Regions from separate parts of the Homo sapiens genome. Here regions 1, 2 and 3 are each linked to region 4. Evidence: promoter capture Hi-C in 16 types of primary human blood cells and fetal thymus (Javierre and others, 2016). All regions are on one chromosome and are shown on one strand. Each heading gives the region's core, a stretch centred on a gene start or on the middle of the fragment in contact. The rest is flanking DNA. Distances are from core to core; before and after follow the strand shown.

Region 1 (2,937 bases), core at 277-2,776, 310 kb after region 4:
GCGCCCTCAGCCCTGGGCTCTCTCCACCCTCCCTCTAAGACCCTCAAGGTGTACAGAGCTATATATGTTACAGGAAAGGGGTCCCGATCCACAACCCAAGAGAGGGTTCTTGGATCTCACCCCAGAAAGAATTCAGGGTGAGTCTGTAAAGTGAAAGCAAGTTTATTAAGAAAGTAAAGGAATAAAGAATGGCTACTCCATAGGCAGAGCAGCCCCGAGGGCTGCTGGCTGCACATTTTTATGGTTATTTCTTGATGATCTGCTAAACAAGGGGTGGATTATTCATGCCTGCCCTTTTTAGACCATATAGGCTAACTTCCTGACATTGCTGTGGCATTTGTAAACTGTCATGGCCCTGGTGGGAGTGTAGCAGCGAGGACGACCGGAGGTCACTCTCATGGCTGTCTTGGTTTTTGTGGGTTTTGACCAGCTTCTTTACTGCAACCTGTTTCATCAGCAAGGTCGTTATGACCTGTGTCGTCTTGTCCCATGACTTAGAATGCCTTAACTGTCCAGGAATGCAGCCCGGTAGGTCTCAGCCTCATTTTACCCAGCTCCTACGCAAGATGGAGTTGCTCTGGTTTACATGCCTCTGACATGAGCATGTGTGCCCACCTCGATCAAATCCATCAGGGGCACCTGCACCACTTAGCCCTGCCAGCCATTGGCCTGCTCCTACGGTGGGTCCCCTCCAGAAGTCCCCCAGAGCTCTTCCTCTCTTCACCTGCTTCCCGCCCACACATGCCCTGTGCTCCAGCCACAGGCACCCTGTCCAGATCCCTCCCCCATCTCCATACCTTCGCCCATGCTGTTCCCCCACCTGGCATGCTGGCACCCTCCTCCCCACCCCCACCCCAATCCAGCCACCTGCAAACTCCTCCAAGTTCCAGCTCAAGCCTTTATCCCCTTGGAAGCTTCCCAGAGAGGCTCAGACAGAAAAGACACAGCCAACTTACTATTCAGTGAGCCTCTCTCCCTGTCAGGGATACGAGGAAGGCCTGTCACTGAGACCCTACGATCCTGCCCAGCAGGGCTGCCACTCTCCAGCCCACTGTGGCACTCATATTGAGGACAGGGTCACATACCTGGTAATTATAACTTCAAGTCTATTTAACCATATGCCAGGCACTGTGCCAGGAGCCTTGCGTGGATCAACTCATCCAATCCTCACCCTCAGCCTAGAACTCGGAGGGCACAGAAGAGGCACAGCCACAAGGCTGCTGCTGCAAAGGACGACACAGGCAAATGCAGGTTGGAATAGGTGAAAGGGTCTCTCAAGGAAATGAGCTGGAGTCGGGCCTGGAAGAGCAGCAGAACATGCTCCTGGCCCTGCCACACACCTGGGTCCCAGAGCTACATGGAGCTGGCTGCCACCCCTGTCTGCAACCCTGGCCATCCCCGCAGGACGCCTGACAACTTCCTTACCCTGGCCTGCTGGCTAGAAACACCCGCCAGGCAGATGGCCTTTCTGACTGGCCTTCTCCTGGCTACTGCAGCCTCACCGGAGGGCCAGGGCCAGGGCCAGGGCCAGGCCAGGGGTGGCTCCTGCCTCAGCAGGACAGGGCAGCTCCAAAGGTGGGCTCTGCACCAGGGTCTCCCCTGAGCCAGGCAGGGGCTCCCCACGGGAGACAGTGCCAACCGCACAGGCCAGGGGTGCAAATTGAGGCTGGGGAAGGAGAGGCTGATCTCCTGGTGATCAGGGGGGCAGCACCAGCCTCAGCCATGCAGGTGTGAATTCCTCCCCACAGCCTGAGATCAGTGCCTCACCCCCGCCCTCTCTCCCCAGGCTCCCCGCTGGATTGCCCCTGCCTGACACCCCATGCTGGCAACCAGAGGCTGATTCTGCCCGACTGCCTCCAGCTCCTCGAGTGTTCAGCCTGGGTTCCAGAGGGAGGCCATACAGCCCCGTCAGAGACCACCAGGGAAGTATCACAGACCGCAGCCAGCGGGTGAGCTCAGCTGGGAGTTTGCACCAAGCCTGGCTCCGGAGTGTGGCCTGACTGACGCAGGCTGGGACCACCCTACATGGGCCGGCAGGTGTGGGTACGTCCTGGGGCTCAGAGAGGGGCTTGGAAGGCCAAAGGCAAGGCGGCCGGACCCGTTATCGCAGCACATAGCATCCCCTTGACTTGCTGGGAGAAGCTTGCGCCCTCATAGTTAGCAATTCCATGGCCACTGGAGGCCAGAGTGGGAGCTGGGAGGCTCTGGACACCATAGCTTTGGGCCCCCCGGCCCTCTCGGGCTGGTGTTCACCTGTAAATGCTGCTTCCGCTGTTCAAGCGCTGATGCTCCTCGTCGCTCACGGGTGAACAGCTGCTGCCCACCTCCAAGACCCCCCGCACCCTGCACGGCAGGTGACCTCTTGCGTCCCTTCTGGGCCCTCCCTGTGGATTTAGAATGTCGCACCTGCCTGCCGAGGCTCACAGCTGGGTTCCTTTCACAGACACCGTATCCGGACAATCCATTTGTTCTGTCTTTAATCAGAAATGGCCATAGCGAACTACCGTGCGTCCAACCTGAGACACCTGGGGATGGTGGAGCCAGGGGAGATGCCGCGGGCCTGAAGGAGGATGCGAAGCTCCAGGGTGCCCCCTGCTGCCTCCGGAGCGTGCTGCAGTCATGGCCGACGTGGACCTGGCAACCTGCTCCGATCTTCAGAAATATTATCCACGAGACCTGCTTTCTCCCATAATGCATTCGGCTGGCCACCCATGGGAAGCTACAGAATAAAGAACATAAAGACATGCTCCAGAATATGTTCCCAATGCTTAAAATTCCCCCAACTCCCAGGAATCTAGAGTCTTTGAAATATAGATCATTGAGTATCTTTTTGATAACCGAAGTAAAACTGTTTATGTGAGATGCTTTTTCTCTGCAAATAACAACTGAAGAAGAGGCCAGAAACTATAGTCAGAAGGGATTCTGGTCCTGGGGGTC
Region 2 (2,700 bases), core at 197-2,696, 330 kb after region 4:
CAGCAGTGGATATGGTGTGGATCTGTGTCCCCACCCAAATCGCATGTTGAATAGTAATCCCCAGTTTTGGAGGTGGGGCCCGGTGGAAGGCGATTGGATCATGCGGGTGGCTTCTCATAAATGGTTTATACCATCCCCATGGTACTGTCCTCACAGTAGTGAGTTCTCACCAGATCTGGTTCTTTTAAAGTGTGTGGCACTTCCCTTCTCTCTCCTTTGCTCCTGCTCTGGCCATGTGACCTGCCTGCTGCCACTTTGCCTTCCACCATGATTGTAAGTTTCCTGAGACCACCCCAGAAGCTAAGCAGATGCCAGCATCCTGCTTCCTGTACAGCCTGTGGAACTGTTAGCCAATTACACCTTCTTTTTTTTATTTTTATTTTTATTTATTTTTATTTTTTGAGACAGAGTCTCACTCTGTCACCCAGGCTGGAGTGCAGTGGCTTGATCTCTGCTCACTGTAACCTCCACCTCCTGGGCTCAAGCGATTCTCCTGCCTCAGCCTCCCTAGTAGCTGGTATTACAGGCGCCCGCCACCATGCCCGGCTAATTTTTGTATTTTTGGTGGAGACAGGGTTTCACCATGTTGGCCAGGCTGGTCTCGAACTCCTGACCTCAGGTGATCCACCCACCTTAGCTTCCCAAAGTGCTGGGATTACAGGCGTGAGCCACCGCACCTGTCCTACACCTTCTTTATAAATTACCCAGTCTCAGGTATTATTTATAGCAAGGCAAGAATGGCATAATACAGCAGTAGAATCCTATTATTTCAAAATATGGATGCAAAGGCCTGAAGAAACAGCTAAAAGGCTGGCAAAGGTTTGACTCTAGGATGTGGGGCTCAGGGGCTGTGAGGATGGGGACAGAGAAGGCTGTTTTTATTATGTTTTGTAGAATTGTTTGACTTTTTAAGATTAGATTCAAATAAAACTAAATGGCCAGTGCAAGCTAATACTATCCTTATGGTCCCTCCCTTTTCCTACCTCTCCCTAGCCTTCCTCTATCACTCACATTGGAAAGTTACAAAGGTTTGGGGATGTGAAAACTTTTTTCTTCAGAGAATGCTTGCCTACTGTAGCCTTCTGAAATGCACAGAGGCAGGGCGAGATGGTAGCCTTTGCTTTCCTTAGGCAGCCCCACCATAGTGACATCATATTTGTCGTTCTAGGAAAAGTCATTGGAAATTGAAATGTTTGTTCCTTTGGTAGGATACACCATAAATACCTGCTTGACACTTGGCATTTGTTTCACTTAAAAATTATTTTGTTCTGGCTGGGCACAGTGGCTCATGCCTGTAATCCCAGCACTTTGGGAGGCCAAGGTGGGTGGACCACCTGAGGTCAGGAATTCAAGACCAGCCTGACCAATATGGTGAAACCCCATCTACACTAATAATACAAAAATTAGCCGGGTGTGGTGGCATGCACCTGTAGTCCCAGCTACTTGGGAGGCTGAGACAGGGGAATTGCTTGAACCTGGGAGGCAGAGGTTGCAGTGAGCTGAGATTATGCCACTGCACTTCAGCCTAGGTGACAGAGCGAGACTCCCTCTCAAAAAAAAAAAAAAAAAAAGGCTGGGCGTGGTGGCTCACGCCTGTAATCCCAGCACTTTGGGAGGCCGAGGCGGGCGGATCACAAGGTCAGGAGATCGAGACCACGGTGAAACCCCATCTCTACTAAAAATACAAAAAATTAGCCAGGCGCGGTGGCGGGTGCCTGTAGTCCCAGCTACTCGGGAGGCTGAGGCAGGAGAATGGCGTGAACCCGGGAGGCGGAGCTTGCAGGGAGCCAAGATTGCGCCACGGCACTCCAGCCTGGGTGACAGAGTGAGCCTCCGTCTTAAAAAAAAAAAAAAAAAAAAAAAATTATTTAGTTCTTCCACGTGATACATTGTTGCATTGACTTGACACAGTGAAAGTCATTGGTAAAAATGTCCTGGAAGGAACTCACACAGCCAACATGTTTTTCCTTTCCAGGATTCAGAACTGGAGTTTCCTGAAAGACTATGACCCAATGGTAAGGTAAAATATGTTCCTGCCAAACATACTTGCAATTGAATATTACTCATTCTTTCCATCATTCAACTAACATTTATTGAAGATCTACTCTACACCAGATACTGGATGTGCAGCGATGAGTCAAATACACTCTTGTTTCAAGGAATGCAGGGTCCGTTGGATAGAAAACAGTTACATGAAGCATTTAGAAATGTGTTTCCCTCAGTGTTTCTTAATTTTATTAAGATGAACCAATTGGAAATGACAGGCATCTGTTGCTGAAATGTCTCCCCTGATTGAGGATGGCAGCAATATGTAGTCATATCTGTGTGGCGTGCCCGAGAAGGACAATGAGATTGGGTAAAAATACTTTGTAAACAAATTCCCTGACTCTGGTATCACCACCTCCAATCCATCCTCCACATTGCCACCAGACTAATTTCCCTAAACGGCAGAACTGGCCATGTAGCTCCCCTGATTAAAATGCTTCAGTAAGTCTGAAATTTTCAGGTGGCTTACAAAGCCTCCTGTGATCTAAACCATCTATCTCCCCAGCCTCATTACCCACCCCACACAGACCCCACAACACACTTTTTTTTTTTTTTTTTTTTTTTTTGAGATGGAGTCTTGCTCTGTCGCCCAGGCTGGAGTGCAGTGGTGCAATCTTGGCTCACTGCAATCTCCACCTCCTGGATTCTAGTGAT
Region 3 (2,773 bases), core at 61-2,560, 370 kb after region 4:
CCGCCCGCCTCGGCCTCCCAAAGTGCTGGGATTACAGGCGTGAGCCACCGCGCCCGGCCAGGGAATAACTTTTTAAAAACAGTTCAGCTAAAATCTTACATGTGTTTTTCAAACACAAAGATATCTTAAATCTCATTAAACCTATTTATCAGGAGTGTATCCGTACCTTAAAGTAGAAGTTAAGTCACTGTTAAAGTTATATATATTTATTTATTTATTTTTCCACAAAGAGACACATTTTCATGGTTACTTGAATATAAAATATGCCTTGTCCTGTGGGCCAGTTTTTCAGGATGATCTTAACAGAGTATGTTAAACCACCCTTGCTTAATATGGAACGTTCTGAGACAGCAGCACCCTCAGGACGTCAGATGAGTAAAGGGATTTTTAAAAGTTATAACCCTTCTTAGGCTGGGCACAGTGGCTCACGCCTGTAATCCCAGCACTTTGGGAGGCCAAGGTGGGCAGATTACTTGAGGTCAGGAGTTTGAGACCAGCCTGGGCAACATGGTGAAACCCTGTCTCTACTAAAAATACAAAAAATAGCCAGGCGTGGTGGTGGGCACCTGTCATCCCAGGTGCCTGGGGAGCTGAGGCGGGAGAATCACTTGAACCCAGAAGGTGGAGGTTGCAGTGAGCCAAGACAGGCCACTGAACCCCAGCCTGGGTGACAGGGCAAGACTGTCTCAAAAAAAAAAAAAAAAAGTTAAAAGTTATAACCCTTCTTAGCCAGAGCCACATTACTGTCAATTGAGCACTTAAGATGATAAATTATTATTTATGAAGTTGGGCCAAGGGGCCAAAAATTGTCATGATAGGGAGATCATTTCCCCAGAAATAACTGGAACCAAAATTGTTCATTTCGGAGGTTGGGGGTGAAGCTTTATTTAGGCTTATACTTTGAGCAGGAGGTGGTTTTGGTCTGTATTGTAAAGACAGTTTTTAATACACTTTTTTTTTTATTTCAGTTCTTCTACGTTTTGTGATCATGCTGGCTTTAAATATATGGGTAACAGTGACAGTACTTCGCTACCGGAAGACCGCTATAAAGGCTGAATGATGGATACATTATTCCTTCACACAGTGGATTTTGAGTAACTGAACCAAAGGAAAAAGAAGCTCTTTGCTAAATTAAGGTCTTTTATAAATTTAGTAAATCAGTTTATAATCTTTAAAGCCAAAGGTTTTTTTAGACTTGAAAGAAAGAGCCACTTAAATTCTTGTTTAAAAATACCAATTTGCCTCCTCCTTCCTCACTTCGTTAGGTTATGGTAGTGCTCAGACATCTGCAGTGTTGAGGCCAGTCACTGTTGGAAGTCATCCAAGAAGCCCATTTTGAGGCCATTTTGAGCCTTACTCTTAAGTTCTCTATGAAGAACTACATTGATTTGTTGGCTTTCAGAATCTTTTAGGAAATAAATCCTCTCCAGGACAAAAATGAACATGAATGGAGTGGCATTTTGTTCCAAGTCAGAGGTGGGCACCTATAATAAATGACTAGGGTTCACTTTCTGGGACTGATGTTTAATTGTAACACAGATACAACAGGGTGGCCTTGTTGTGTATAATACGGTATTATACCCGCATGTGCTCTAGCAAGGATACCAAGGCAAGCATACATGTAGCTGGCTTGAGTTTGTACCAAAACAGTCCTTCAACTTTGCACTGTGCCTTAAGTAATTACTAACAAAAGGTACTAGGATTAGCTGCAATCTCTACTTTCGATGAGGAAATCCCAGTAAGCTTTCTGATTCAAGTACAATGCTGCCATTTTTTAAAGGGCCACAACTATAGAATTACCACTGTTGGAATTTGGTACAAAATATGTTTTGTCTATTGAAAACATACACGGTAAATGGTGTTGTTAGGTAGGTTCTGTCCAGTTCTTAGGGACTTTTTTCACATTATAGCATTTTTACCCTAAACATGATGTTGAGATTATTATATACTGTATTTTCTTCTAAATTAACCCTAATGTTTAAAAACTCACTTTCCCCCTTTAATTGAAGGCATTGTTTTGTTAGATGCAGTAATGATGTTTACCAGAGATTATTGTTTCCTATGCAAAATAAATTTTCATATTTTGAATTCTGCTGAGTCTTAAAACTGTCAATCATTAATATGACTATTTTATGTAAGGTATAGTTTTTAAACAAACTGGTTAATCCTTTTAGAACTACTGCTTGGGACCAACAGGAAGAGAAACATGGTATCTAAAGACAAAATTATTCATTCTGTAGTTGTTAAAATTACAGATGTCATATTTTTAAACATGCAAGTTAATCTTTTTTCATTTGCAGTTATAATCTGACCATTAGCATCAATACAAATTATATGATTTTTAGTCCAACAAATGTTATATTTAGATAACATTAGTACTTTATCACTGCTTAAAGCAACTCCTTTAAGAGCATACTTAGGTGACAGGGTCTCTGTTTTTCCCCCTTTGTAAGGCAACAAACACTCGAGCCATCTCAGACATTCTACACACATCATACTTACTTAATCTGCCAGTGATCCTGTAAAGTAGACACAATCTATATCTCCATTTTACAGATGAAAACACGGAGGCTCAGAGTGAATAACCTGCCCAAGAGCACATAGCAAATAAGTGCCCTAGAAAAGGTTCCACTGATTGCCAGAGAAACACTTTCTAGAAAATCACCTATCAATCAATCAGCACACTATTTCCTGACAAAACAGACATCCTGCCTCTTTTCCCTATCCTTACCAATTCAAATGAGTTTGTTCTATTATTTGCGTGCGTCTTAAA
Region 4 (2,822 bases), core at 318-2,817:
AAATATTTACATCTCTTTAAAACATGTACTAGCTGGGCCAGGTGACTGACACTTGTAATCCCAGGATTTTGGGAGGTTGAGGAAGGAGGATCACTCGAGGCCAGGAGTTTGAGACCAACCTGAGCAATACAATGAGACCCTGACTCTACAAAAAATTTAAAAATTAGCCAGGTGTGGTGGCATGTGCCTGGATCCCTTGAGACCAGGAGTTCCAGGCTGCAGTGAACTATGATGGAAACCCTGCACTCCAGCCTAGGAGACAGAGCAAGACCGTGTCTCAAAAAACAGAAAGACATGTACTAACTCATTAATCCTCAGGACAACCCTAAGGGAGTACTATTATCAGTCCCTAAAATGGTGAACACCGTTGAAAAGGCACTGGCACAGAGTGGTTAAGTAACTTGCTCCAAGTCACAGAGCCAGTAAATAGGGGGAAGGTGGTCTGAGGCCAGAGCCGAGGTTAAGGACTGTCAGAGCCAAGGCTGTGACCAAGGCGAGCCCGGCAAGGACAGGACCCTCGGCCTCGCCCACTAAGAAGCAGACATTTACAGAATTCCTAAGACGCCGCGTTCCATTTCGTTTTTAAGGAGTCCGATCACATGCGAAGCGCCCCTGCGTCTTAAGCCCAGCTTTTGGAAGGCACTGTCCCTTTCTAAGGGAACTATGGGTCCTTATTTCAGGACTGAGATTTAACATTTCAGTTTTTCGTTTCTGAGACAGAGTTTCACTCTTGTTGCCCAGGCTGGAGTGGCGCGATCTCGGCTCACTGCAACCTCCGCCTCCTGGGGGTTCAGGAGATTCTCCTGCCTCAGCCTTCTGAGTAGCTGGGATCACTGGCGCGCGACACCACGCCCGACTAATTTTGTATTTTTAGTAGAGACGGGGTTTCGCCATGTTGGTCAGGCTGGTCTCGAACTCCTGACCTCAGATGATCCACCCGCTTCGGCCTTCCAAAGTGCTGGGATTACAGGTGTGAGCCACCGCGCCCGGCTTAACATTTCAGTTTTTAAAAGTAGGAGCTGCATAAAGCAGGTGGCAGAAACAAGCAGCAGTGCAGGACGCCCGCCAACCTCCGTCCCCACGCACGAGTTCGAGAAGAGCCCGGAACAAGCTCCCCTGCGACTCTCCGGGAATACAGACCCCCTCCCCGGGATCCGGCCGGGGCTGGGCTCCGCGGCTCTCCCGCCCGGCCCTGGACCCCGCGCCCGGCTCCAGCGCACGAGGCTCCCGCCCCCCGCGGCTGCGGAAGCCCCTCCCCACGGGCGCCCGAGTCTCCCGCGCACCCGCACCTCCGCCGGGGCAACCTAGCAGCTCCTCCGGACGCCGAGGCCCGCGCCTCCCGCCCGCCAGGCCCACTTCCGGCCGCCTGCGGCCGCGGCCCGCCGGGGAACGGCCTAGAGATTCGAAACCTTTCAGGCCGACCCCAGCTCGCCCGCCTCCCTCCGCTGGCCCGCACCTACCGAGCACCAGGAGAGCCATGCCGAGCGCCGGGCTACGTGCAGTCCCCACCGCCGCCGCCGCTTCAGCCCTGCAGCGTGCCGCACGCCGCGCCCCCGCGCCCACGTCCCGCCCCAGGCCAGTCCGGTGGTCCGAGGGGCGGCCGCGCGGGGGCGGGCCGGAAGGCGCTCGCCAAGCCGTGGCTGCGGCTCATTGGTCCGGGCGGACATCGCTCACTCACATATCCAATGGGAGGCGGCCGGGTAGAGGTTACCGGTTTGGTTTTTTTTCACGGGGGCGGTGGCGAGCAGCGGAAGGCGGGGCCTGCTGGGGGCGGGGCTGGCAGTCTCGGCTCGCACCGCCTCAGCTCCTCCGGGCCCTCTCGGGGTGCTGCTCGGAGGGGAGTCCAGTACTGGGCGTTTTTACCTTAGTTCCTTATTCTGCACCCCCCCACCCCGCCTCCTCCTTGCCTGTGTGCGCCCCCACCCTCTTTATCCCGGGGGAGCGTGACTCGGCCTCAGGGCACCCACGGTCCTGGGAGCTGACAGGGAATTCCTCTTGTGCCCGACGAATATTCCGTGGACACACATTTGCTCCGCACGCGCTGTCTGCAATGTAATTCGACAAGTTTCTATTTTGTTGAATTACTTTTGAAAGTTCTTCCGTCCAGGGCGCATGGCTCTGCAGAGCCTTCTCCTCCTTCTCTGGAGAACCCCAGGGACTTAAGCGGTAGCCTCCTCGCTGACAGGGTCTCCACTTTGTCCTGGGGGGCGAGGGGGCTGGCAATGCGCTCACGTGGGTGTGTGCTTTGTAAAATATGCAAAAGTGAAAAAAAATATGTTTGTGGGGCAGGCTGGCGAGCAGTGGCATGATACAGTTCACTGCAGCCTTGAACTCCTGGGCTGCAGTGAGCCTCCTGCCTCGGCCTCCCAAAGTGCTGGGATCACAGGCATGGGCCACCACGCCCGGCAAAAGTAAAAATTTTTTTGCTTTTTTTTGAGATGGAGTTTTGCCCTTGTTGCCCAGGCTGGAGTGCAAAGGCGGGGTCTTGGCTCACTGCAACCTCTGCCTCCCGGGTTCAAGCGATTCTCTTGCCTCAGCTTCCCGAGAAGCTGGGATGACAGGTGCATGTCACCACGCCCGGCTAATTTTTGTATTTTTAGCAGAGACAGGGTTTCTCTTGCCTCAGCTTCCCGAGAAGCTGGGATGACAGGTGCATGTCACCACGCCCGGCTAATTTTTGTATTTTTAGCAGAGACAGGGTTTCTCCATATTGGCCAGGCTGGTCTCGAACTCCCGACCTCAGGTGATCCGCCTGCTTCGGCCTCCCAAAATGCTAGGATTACAGTTGTGAGCCACCACGCCCGACCTAAAAGTAAAATCTT

Evidence for each region. The method cuts DNA at HindIII sites, captures the fragments that hold promoters and counts their contacts. A CHiCAGO score of 5 or more calls a contact.
Region 1: a fragment that was not itself captured here is called in contact with the fragment with the promoter of PDIA6 in region 4 in 12 of 17 cell types (fetal thymus, M2 macrophages, megakaryocytes and 9 more); the score reaches 12.7 in fetal thymus.
Region 2: a fragment that was not itself captured here is called in contact with the fragment with the promoter of PDIA6 in region 4 in 10 of 17 cell types (M2 macrophages, non-activated CD4 T cells, naive CD4 T cells and 7 more); the score reaches 9.8 in M2 macrophages.
Region 3: a fragment that was not itself captured here is called in contact with the fragment with the promoter of PDIA6 in region 4 in 3 of 17 cell types (naive CD4 T cells, endothelial precursors and fetal thymus); the score reaches 6.9 in naive CD4 T cells.

Annotation. Positions count from the first base shown.
Region 1 is chr2:11,122,067-11,125,003 of GRCh38, forward strand. FLJ33534 (Putative uncharacterized protein FLJ33534) reads right to left here. Exons shown (of 9, transcript NR_040080.1): 4 at 2,517-2,719; 5 at 1,086-1,223. Among named protein-coding and RNA genes, the nearest start is that of FLJ33534, 8.6 kb to the right of the region's middle. The HindIII fragment of the contact is 1,228 bases long and covers 913-2,140 here.
Region 2 is chr2:11,138,535-11,141,234 of GRCh38, forward strand. CIMIP5 (ciliary microtubule inner protein 5) reads left to right here. Exons shown (of 3, transcript NM_001371321.1): 2 at 1,976-2,015. Among named protein-coding and RNA genes, the nearest start is that of CIMIP5, 6.8 kb to the left of the region's middle. The HindIII fragment of the contact is 7,524 bases long and covers 1-2,700 here.
Region 3 is chr2:11,176,769-11,179,541 of GRCh38, forward strand. SLC66A3 (solute carrier family 66 member 3) reads left to right here. Exons shown (of 7, transcript NM_152391.5): 7 at 969-2,088. The coding sequence ends at 1,060. Among named protein-coding and RNA genes, the nearest start is that of SLC66A3, 23 kb to the left of the region's middle. The HindIII fragment of the contact is 862 bases long and covers 880-1,741 here.
Region 4 is chr2:10,811,218-10,814,039 of GRCh38, forward strand. PDIA6 (protein disulfide isomerase family A member 6) reads right to left here and starts at 1,568. Exons shown (of 13, transcript NM_005742.4): 1 at 1,461-1,568. The coding sequence starts at 1,479. RefSeq lists an enhancer at 571-630 and a silencer at 1,121-1,870. The HindIII fragment of the contact is 7,767 bases long and covers 1-2,822 here.